Regions from separate parts of the Homo sapiens genome. Here regions 1 and 2 are each linked to region 3. Evidence: promoter capture Hi-C in 16 types of primary human blood cells and fetal thymus (Javierre and others, 2016). All regions are on one chromosome and are shown on one strand. The core of a region is centred on a gene start or on the middle of the fragment in contact, and the rest is flanking DNA. Distances in the headings are between cores, read along the strand shown.

Evidence for each region. Contacts are between HindIII fragments. The CHiCAGO score rates a contact against its expected background, and 5 or more counts as called.
Region 1: the fragment with the promoter of ZNF615 here is called in contact with the fragment with the promoter of ZNF468 in region 3 in 9 of 17 cell types (neutrophils, naive CD4 T cells, total B cells and 6 more); the score reaches 13.5 in neutrophils.
Region 2: the fragment with the promoter of ZNF350 here is called in contact with the fragment with the promoter of ZNF468 in region 3 in 12 of 17 cell types (total CD4 T cells, naive CD8 T cells, naive B cells and 9 more); the score reaches 16.3 in total CD4 T cells.

What each region holds. Positions count from the first base shown.
Region 1 is chr19:52,006,922-52,009,621 of GRCh38, reverse strand. ZNF615 (zinc finger protein 615) reads left to right here and starts at 1,411. Exons shown (of 7, transcript NM_001199324.2): 1 at 1,411-1,481; 2 at 2,292-2,329. It overlaps LOC124904755 (a long non-coding RNA gene), which reads right to left and starts at 1,324. Exons shown (of 2, transcript XR_007067321.1): 1 at 1,143-1,324. RefSeq lists enhancers at 901-980, 1,041-1,650. The HindIII fragment of the contact is 6,775 bases long and covers 1-2,700 here.
Region 2 is chr19:51,985,531-51,988,230 of GRCh38, reverse strand. ZNF350 (zinc finger protein 350) reads left to right here and starts at 1,391. Exons shown (of 5, transcript NM_021632.4): 1 at 1,391-1,461. RefSeq lists enhancers at 1,225-1,464, 1,051-1,926. The HindIII fragment of the contact is 6,623 bases long and covers 1-1,926 here.
Region 3 is chr19:52,856,234-52,858,933 of GRCh38, reverse strand. ZNF468 (zinc finger protein 468) reads left to right here and starts at 1,315. Exons shown (of 4, transcript NM_001008801.2): 1 at 1,315-1,362. RefSeq lists an enhancer at 1,637-1,716. The HindIII fragment of the contact is 10,660 bases long and covers 1-2,700 here.

The DNA of each region.
Region 1 (2,700 bases), core at 162-2,661, 850 kb after region 3:
CCAGGTGTGGTGGTGCCCACCTGTAGTCCCAGCTATTCAGGAGCCCAGGAGTTCCAAGTTACAGTGAGCTGTGATCTCCCCAGGCACTCCAGACTGGGCAACAGAGTGGACCTTGCCTCAAAAAGAGACAAAAAAAAAACAAAAAAAAAGAAAAACTCTCATATACCAAGGGTGAGAAGAGCAAATGGAACACGAACTTGACTCTGAAAAATAGTTTGACAATTTCTCTGTATATTTATATACTGATACCTATATCACACACATAGATTCACACAGGCATTTCCTTTCTCTCATTCTTCTAATATAGGAAGTTTGGTTGGATTTATATTTACAGTTCAGCATTGCCATGACTTTGCACATACTATTCGCGGTTGGCACACGTAGTATAACGTGATCTCCTTCTTAACCTTTCTTTCTTTTGTTTTTTTTTTGAGATGGAGTTTTGCTCCTGTTGCCCAGGCTGGAGTGCAATGACGCCATCTTGGCCCACAGCAACCTCCGCCTCCCGGGTTCAAGCGATTCTCCTGCCTCAGCCTCCCGAGTAGCTGGGATTACAGGCATGCGCCACCATGCCTGGCTAATTTTGTATTTTTAGTAGAGACAGGGTTTCTCCATGTTGGTCAGGCTGGTCTCGAACTCCCGCTCTCAGGTGATCCGCCCACCTCGGCCTCCCAAAGTGCTGGGATTACAGGCGTGAGCCACCGCGCCCGGCCTCTTTCCCAACCTTTTTTTTCTCACTGAAGTGGTCCTGTTCCCTTAATTTCTGGCCACTTCTCCTGAGTCCAGCCCTCATATTTGGCTCCACCTGGGTCCCAGGCTCTCCCCTCCGCCTTGGGAACTATACTTTCTGGCTTTTACTGGCTTTTCCCCATGCCTTTCACCCAACATAATTTTGGCACGTTCCAACCGTTTTCATTACCTAGTCTGTGACTGCTACCCCTGTTCCGTCAGCGTAGCTAACAGCCCTCTTCTGCGTTCAAAAGGCGCTTCAAGCTACTTTGTTAGAAATCTGGCTTTGGCCGAAGTGTCCCCTCTCGGCCGGTTCTCCTTTTCCCTCACAAGGAACTGTTTCCTAACCTTTGTACAAAGTGTAAACGTCGCGGCCATCTTAGCCTTCTATTCAGCTGCTGAAAGGGATTTACCTCCACGCCATTTTTGTCTTGTGTAAACTGGAGCCTCTGTATATGGACCCGTATTTATGAAGGGTTGAGGTGCCAGGAAATGGGACAGTTTCAGTGCTCTTTCATCTTCCCGGCCATCCCCGGTCACCCCCGGTCACCCCCGGTCACCAGCGCCAAAACGCGCCCTTTGCCTTGTGTACGTCAGATACTCAAAGATGGCGGCCCCCATGGAGCCAAGGCGACGAGGGCGCGGCCATCTTGCATCTGCGCAAACGCTGGGAACGCCTCCGACCCTGGATAGTCGCCGTCAGGCACTGAGGAGGCCGAGAGATGAGGCCGGAGCCCACCAAGTTCTGGGAAGTAAGTTCAGTCACTGGGTGGTCGCTGTGGTGACGGGGGAGGAAATTCTGTCCGTGGCTGGGCGTGTTCGTGGACAGTGGTGATGGACTGGTATCTGTCGGCGCCAGCGTTTGGCGACGCCAGTGGAATTCTTTCAGGAGCTTAGCGTGGGTCCGATTCCTATCGCAGGGGAACTACAAGAGGTCCGTGATAGGGTGTGTGTGTGTGTGATCGGGGTACCTCTGGGACCAGTCACAGGGTCCTCGTGTAGTTTGTGGTTAAAGATCTCTAGAGATCCGCTACTGAGTGCCCAAGTCACATTCTGGTGTCTTTGGTGTTGTCCTTTGGCGGGGCTCAGTGATTGCGAACTGGAGGGTTTGTTTTGTCAGCGAATCGGTTTATGGTTCAGGTTTTGTTTGGGACTAAATGATTGAGGAACTGTCTTGGGGGTTAAGGTACGGAGGTTTCTGATCCAGGTTTTGGAATTAATCCCGGTGGCGGTGGTGGTAGCGCCACAGATTCCGATGTGGGCTGCAGCTCTGGAGGCCTGGGAACCATGGCAGGTGATGGGTTAGCCCCAGCCCTGGCTGCTGGAACAGAATTGATGCTCATTAGCATTCCCCTTCTGCCCAAGACCCTTCTCCACGACTGGTTTTTAAATCCCCTTTGGCACCTTCCATCACCCCTTGGTCTTGAATCCTCAGAAATGGAAGTTTTTGGCGAGATCAGTCATCTAGCATACCTAAAAGTAGTATGTTTTATATTTAAGATGCGGCTTCTACCCTTTGTCCTGCAAGTTTCCAGCGTATCCTCTTGGATATTTCTTTTCAGGTTCTTTCTGACACAAGTAAGATAACATCTCTGCCATGGTAAGCTCGGTTACTCAAAGATAACCTTTGTCAAATTTTCAGAATATTTCAATTTTAGACGTGTATGTTATGTGCTTAATATTCATAATTCAGATAAATTATGTAAATGGTACTATTATCTTTTTCGCTTTATATTATGTAATAAACATTTAGAAGTTGTTTTTACTGTTTGAGCCGGTGGTACTATAAGTGCATTCACATTAAGTTTATGCGTACATTTGGATAGAAGTGAAATGTTTTAAAATGTTTAGGTATTATTTTTAGGAACATTTTATGATTATCCATTTATCCATGAATTTTGTTTTTCCTGCCTTTAATCTTCAATCTAGACTATTACTTTTATTGCAGTGTATTGCTTTCTGACTCCCCTT
Region 2 (2,700 bases), core at 142-2,641, 870 kb after region 3:
GTCCACTTTATTAATTTTATTTTGTTTTGTGGGTCATCCTTTACTCTCCTCTCAGAATTAACTCACGTCCATGAGGATTATCTCCCTTTTCCTTCTCTAAGTTTTATACTTTCTCTTAAACTTAGATCTATGATCTATTTTGAGTTAACTTTTGTGTATGGTTTGAGGGTCCTAACTCATTTTTCTGGATGTGGATATCCAATTATCCCAGTGCCGCTTGTTGAAAAGACTATTCTTATTGAATTGTCTTGGCACTTTTGTCAAAAACTCTTAACAATATTTTTATACTCTCAATTCTGGCTCTGCTCTTCCCATTGGCACCTTTACTAAAAGTGGCCTTTCTAGGAGGCCCAATTCCTTTAGTCTGTCGTGGCCAGGCTCACATCGTAATTCATTCTCAAAATCTCTTTTCTCTCCTCTCCTCTCCTCTTTTCTCTTCTTTTCTCCTCTTTTCTCTTCCTTCTCCTCCTCCTCTTCCTCCTTCTTCTTCTTCTTTTTTGTAAATAATAATCATTTTTTCGAGGCCAGGCGCGGTGGCTCACACCTGTAATCCCAGCACTTTGGGAGGCCGAGACAGGCAGATCACGAGGTCAGGAGGTCGAGATCATCTTGGCCAACATGGTGAAAGCCAGTCTCTACTAAAAATACAAAAATTAGCTGGGCGTGGTGGCGCGTGCCTGTAGTCCCAGCTACTTGGGAGGCTAAGGCAGGAGAATCGCTTGAACCAGGGAGGCAGAGGTTGCAGTGAGCCCAGATCTCGCCACTGCACTCCAGCCTGGCGACAGAGCAAGACTCCGTCTCAAAAAAAATTATAATTTTTTTCTTTCTTCACCACCCGCCCCCCCGAATACCTGCTATTTTTCTGTTCTTAAAAACCGCTTCCTGCAAGCTAATTTTCGCCAGACGCTTTCCCGTGGGTGTCTGCCTACCTGATGTGTTGCCTTTTCCCTTTCTACCTGATCTGTTACCTTTTCCATTTCCAATTCATTCTCTGGGATACCTACACCTGGCTGCACTGTTACTTGTCTTTTTCAAAACCTTTTTTTTTAAATTTAACAAAGTGGATGGAAAAGCGCTAAAGGCAATTTAGCTTGCCCCATATTTGCCTGATAAAGCCTGAGTCTCTGAAAATCTGCCCCCTTTCGCAAGACTTTAAGTGCCAGGAAACGAGGCGATTTCAGTGACTTCTCTTCTTCCCTGGCTCCTGGCTCAAAAACCTGCCACTGCCTTCTGTGCGTCCAATTTTCAAACATGGCTGCCGTCAGGAGCCACGGCTATGGGCGCGGCCATTTTACAGAGTAGGAAATGCCGTAAATGCGCTTGTCCTTGCTCTTTTAAACATTTTAGGTTCTCCTCGGCCGCCGTAGGTGGACCATAAACCCGTGCGAGGACTCCAGAAGTAGGAGCAGTTTACGGAAGTGTAACGTTGAGGCCCTTCTTGTGTATCTGGAGAAAATAGAGGTCAGTGTGTGGTTTTGTCCCTGAAAGTTTTTTGTCCTAGTTCAGGTTTTGTCTCAGTGGAAGGTTTGGGAGATCTGAGGACGTGGTGTACCCTGGACCACATAGTTTTTGGCAGGAAGACTGGGGAGCGCCGGGGTATAGGCATTTGGGAGGTACCTGGTGGGAGTCTGTGATCCCCCTGTCTGTGGTCCGCGTGCCTTTGGTGTGAGTACAGTGACTAAGGGTCTGTAGTGATCAACGGCCGTGTCCTAACTGTCAAGGTATGGATCACTCTGCTTGTAAAGGATGGAGGTGGCGATTAGGATCGATGCGGCGTCTGCTTCGGGTTCAGGATTTAATTTGGAACTCAGTGATGTTGGAGTCTGGGAGGATGTCCATCGCTGTAGAGTGTCTGGTCCGTGGTTCGGATGAGTAAGAGGCATGGGGCCAGTGTCTGTGGTACAAAGGCTTGTGAGGGCTGAAGCTTTCGAGACTTTGGAGCCCTGGGTCCTGGGTTGAGGTTCGAACCTCGGTTACTGGGGCAAAAGGCGACACAGCCCCCAGCATTAGTTCGAAACCATATATCTACTCTTCTGATCCTTGGGGTGGCTATTTACAGATCGGGGGGTCAAGTTCAGTCATACCCTCCGATTATATATTGTCTATGGCTGCAAAGGCAGCGGTTGAGTTGTTGTGACAGAGACCTCGTGGCCGGCAAAATCGAAAATGTTGCCAACCTCTGCATTCACTTCTTTTATTTTTTATTTATTTTTTTTATTTTTTGAGACGGAGTTTCACTTTTGTCTCCCAGACTGGAGTGCAATGGCGCGATCTCGGCTCACTGCAATCTCCGCCTCCCGGGTTCAAGCGATTCTCCTGCCTCAGCCTCCTGAGTAGCTGGGACTACAGGCCCACGCCACCACGCCCGGCTAGTTTTTGTATTTTTAGTAGAGACAGGGTTTTACCACGTTGGGCAGGTTGGTCTCGAACTCCTGACCTCAGGTGATCCGCCCACCTTGGCTTTCCAAAGTGCTGGGATTACAGGCGTGAGCCACCGCGCCCGGCCTTCACTTCTTAATATATAGTGAGTGTTGCTTGCCCGCCTTATATTCACACTTTCTTAACAGAATCTCCATTTCGTGAAGTATTCATCCCTGTGGCAAGGCGACCCAAATCCCAGTTTCTTAGTAAGGCCTTGTTGGTCTTAGCCAATCTTGCTGGTTCCAATTGCCATTGCTAGTGATAGGTTTGACATGGAAA
Region 3 (2,700 bases), core at 66-2,565:
GAAGTCAGGAGTTCGAGACCAGCCTGTCCAACATGATGAAACCCCGTCTGTACCCAAAATACAAAAATTAGCCGGGCATGGTGGGTGTGCCTGTAATGCCAGCTACTCCGGAGGCTGAGGCAGAAGAATCGCTTCAACCCAGGAGGCAGAGGCTGCAGTGAGCCGAGATGTCACCATTGTACTCCAGCCTGGGCGACAGAGAAATACTCAGTCTCAAAAAAAAAAAAAAAAAGAAGAAGAAGAAGAAAAAGAAAAAATGTAAATAAAAAGGAGAAAGTAACAGATCTCTTTTACAAATGTGCTGGGACAACTAACTGGATATCCATATGGAGAAGAGTAATGTTGTATTCCTATCTCACACAAGCAAATTTAGTTTGTTTATTTATTTTTAGAGAGGGAGTCTGGCTCTGTCGCCCAGGCTGGAGTGCAGTGGCTCGGTCTCGGCCCACTGCAAGCTCCACCTCCCATGTTCACCGCATTCTCCTGCCTCAGCCTCCTGAGTAGCTGGGACTACAGGCGCCCGCCACCACGCCCGGCTAATTTTTGTATTTTTAGTGGAGACGGGGTTTCATCGTGTAAGCCAGGATGGTCGCGATCTCCTGACCTCGTGATCCGCCCGCCTCAGCCTCCCAAAGTGCTGGGATTACAGGCGTGAGTCACCGTGCCCGGCCTAATAAAAATTTTATTTTAAAAATTTAAAAAAGAGAGAGACTGCGGGAGGGAATGTTACATTGTCGCGCAGGCTGTCCTGGACCCCCAGGCTGAGCGATCCTCCCGCCGCTGCTTCCTGAGTAGCTGGGACCTCAGGCTCCCACGCCCGCATCCCTGCTGTGTTTAAGCAGCAGGTGGTGACCTCACTCCTCCCTGGCCTGAGCACTCCGTCTGGCATCCCAGGCTGTGGCCCTAGGGATGTCTCTGAAGCTGAGCACTGGGTGGACTCTCCCTCCTGAGTGAATGGAGAATAGAAAGGGAGAAGATTTCTATACTGTCCTGTGGGCCATCAGCATGAAATCCTACGTTCCGCCCAGAAAGGGCTTTGCATTTTACATTCTAGTTTGCATCCTCCTTCCAGACTATTCCAGGGCTTTTGAATTATCCGTCTGCCTTCCTGGGGGCTCTCGCCGCCAAAACCCGGAGAACGGGTTGGGAGGAGGCTGAGAGATGCACAGGTCCCGCTCCGGCCCCGCCCTCTGCGGGTTCTAAAGGGCAAGGTCTCGCCGCTTCGCGCCCCGCCCACACCTCACCCGGGCCCCGCTCGCCTCCTCGTTGGCTCCACCCAGGCCTGGTTTCTGTCCTGCGCGCGCAGATTCGCGCAGACCAGGAAGTGGATCCCGTGGAATGACGGTCACGCCGCGGCGGGCGGTGAGTTTTGCTCTGTGTGGTGTTAAGTCTGAGCTTCCCAGGTCCCCGGCACTTCTGTACATGGGATGTGGGGTCCCCATAGACCTGGAAGTTCTCGCCTTTCTTCCTTCACTCAGAGCAAATGGAGATGTTCTACTGGGAGTCCGGAAGCCCCTTCTTTTTAGGTTTAAAGTCGCCCTGAGGCTGGTCCCGTCCCGGGTCTTTCTGCCATAGGGCAATGTATACGTTTCCTATCGCGTAGTTTTCCTGCTCAAAACCGTTTTTTGACTCCTTCCGCACGGCTCTTTTTAAAGTCCTCACCCTAGAGGTGTATTCCCACCCTGTGCGCCTCCCAGCCTTACTCTCCTGGGTTCCTGGAGCACAGCGCGGCGACCCCAGTCCCGGGAAGGCTGCGTTCTGTGGTCCTGGGATCCTGCGGATCCCACCCTTGTCCGAAGGCGTCGTCGCTCCCCACCTCCCTCCTCCTCTTGCTGGGCCCTGCTGCTCCCCAGATCTCCCCTCCGCAGTCACCGCGTCCCCTGAGCCCTCGTTGGAGAGGTGCCTGGGGCTTGTCCTGTGACGCGGGGTGTTCTTGCCCGCCCAGCTCCAGCACTTGGAAAATGCGCTTCTCCGAGATGCAGGCGTCTTACTCCAAACCCTCTTGTGATCGTGTGGGCCAAAGGGATCAGGAGACAGAGAGAGGGACTGAGAGAGCAGTAGAAAACCTGAGACAGAGAAAAGAAGAATGAGAAAGACCCATAACAGATGGCAAAGTAGAGGATGGGTGAGGGATTTGCCAAGAGACAGCAAAAGTGATAAAAGATAAGAAAGCAGGAGGAGAAAAGCAACTGGAGAAATGTAGAGAAAAGCTAGATGTACAGAGAGATGAAGGACAGCAAGGTAGGGAGAGGGGCAGAAATGTGGAGGCTCATCAGAGTGAGGGAGAGGAGGAGGGATGTGGAGCCGGGTCAGACAGAGCAGAGTGGTGCTGGTGGCAAGGAGAACAGAGGGAGAAGCACAGCGGGGAGGACACCTGGGGATCTGGGGTGCCAGATTGGGTCCAGGGGGTTATAACAGAGAAGAGAGAATTTAACAGGGAGAGCAGAGGAGGCGCATAGATGGGAGAAGAGGCAGAAATCTATGGAGATTGAGGACGATCTAAAGATTGGGGAGAAGGACCAACAGGAGGTTAAATAAGTTGCAAGGATGGAGCCCAGCTAATTTTTGTATTTCTAGTAGAGATAGGGTTTCACCATGTTGGCCAGGTTGGTCTCAAACTCCTGACCTCAGGTAATCCACCCACCTCCACCTCCCAAAGTGCTGGAATTACAGGTGTGAACCACCTCAGCTGTCCACCCA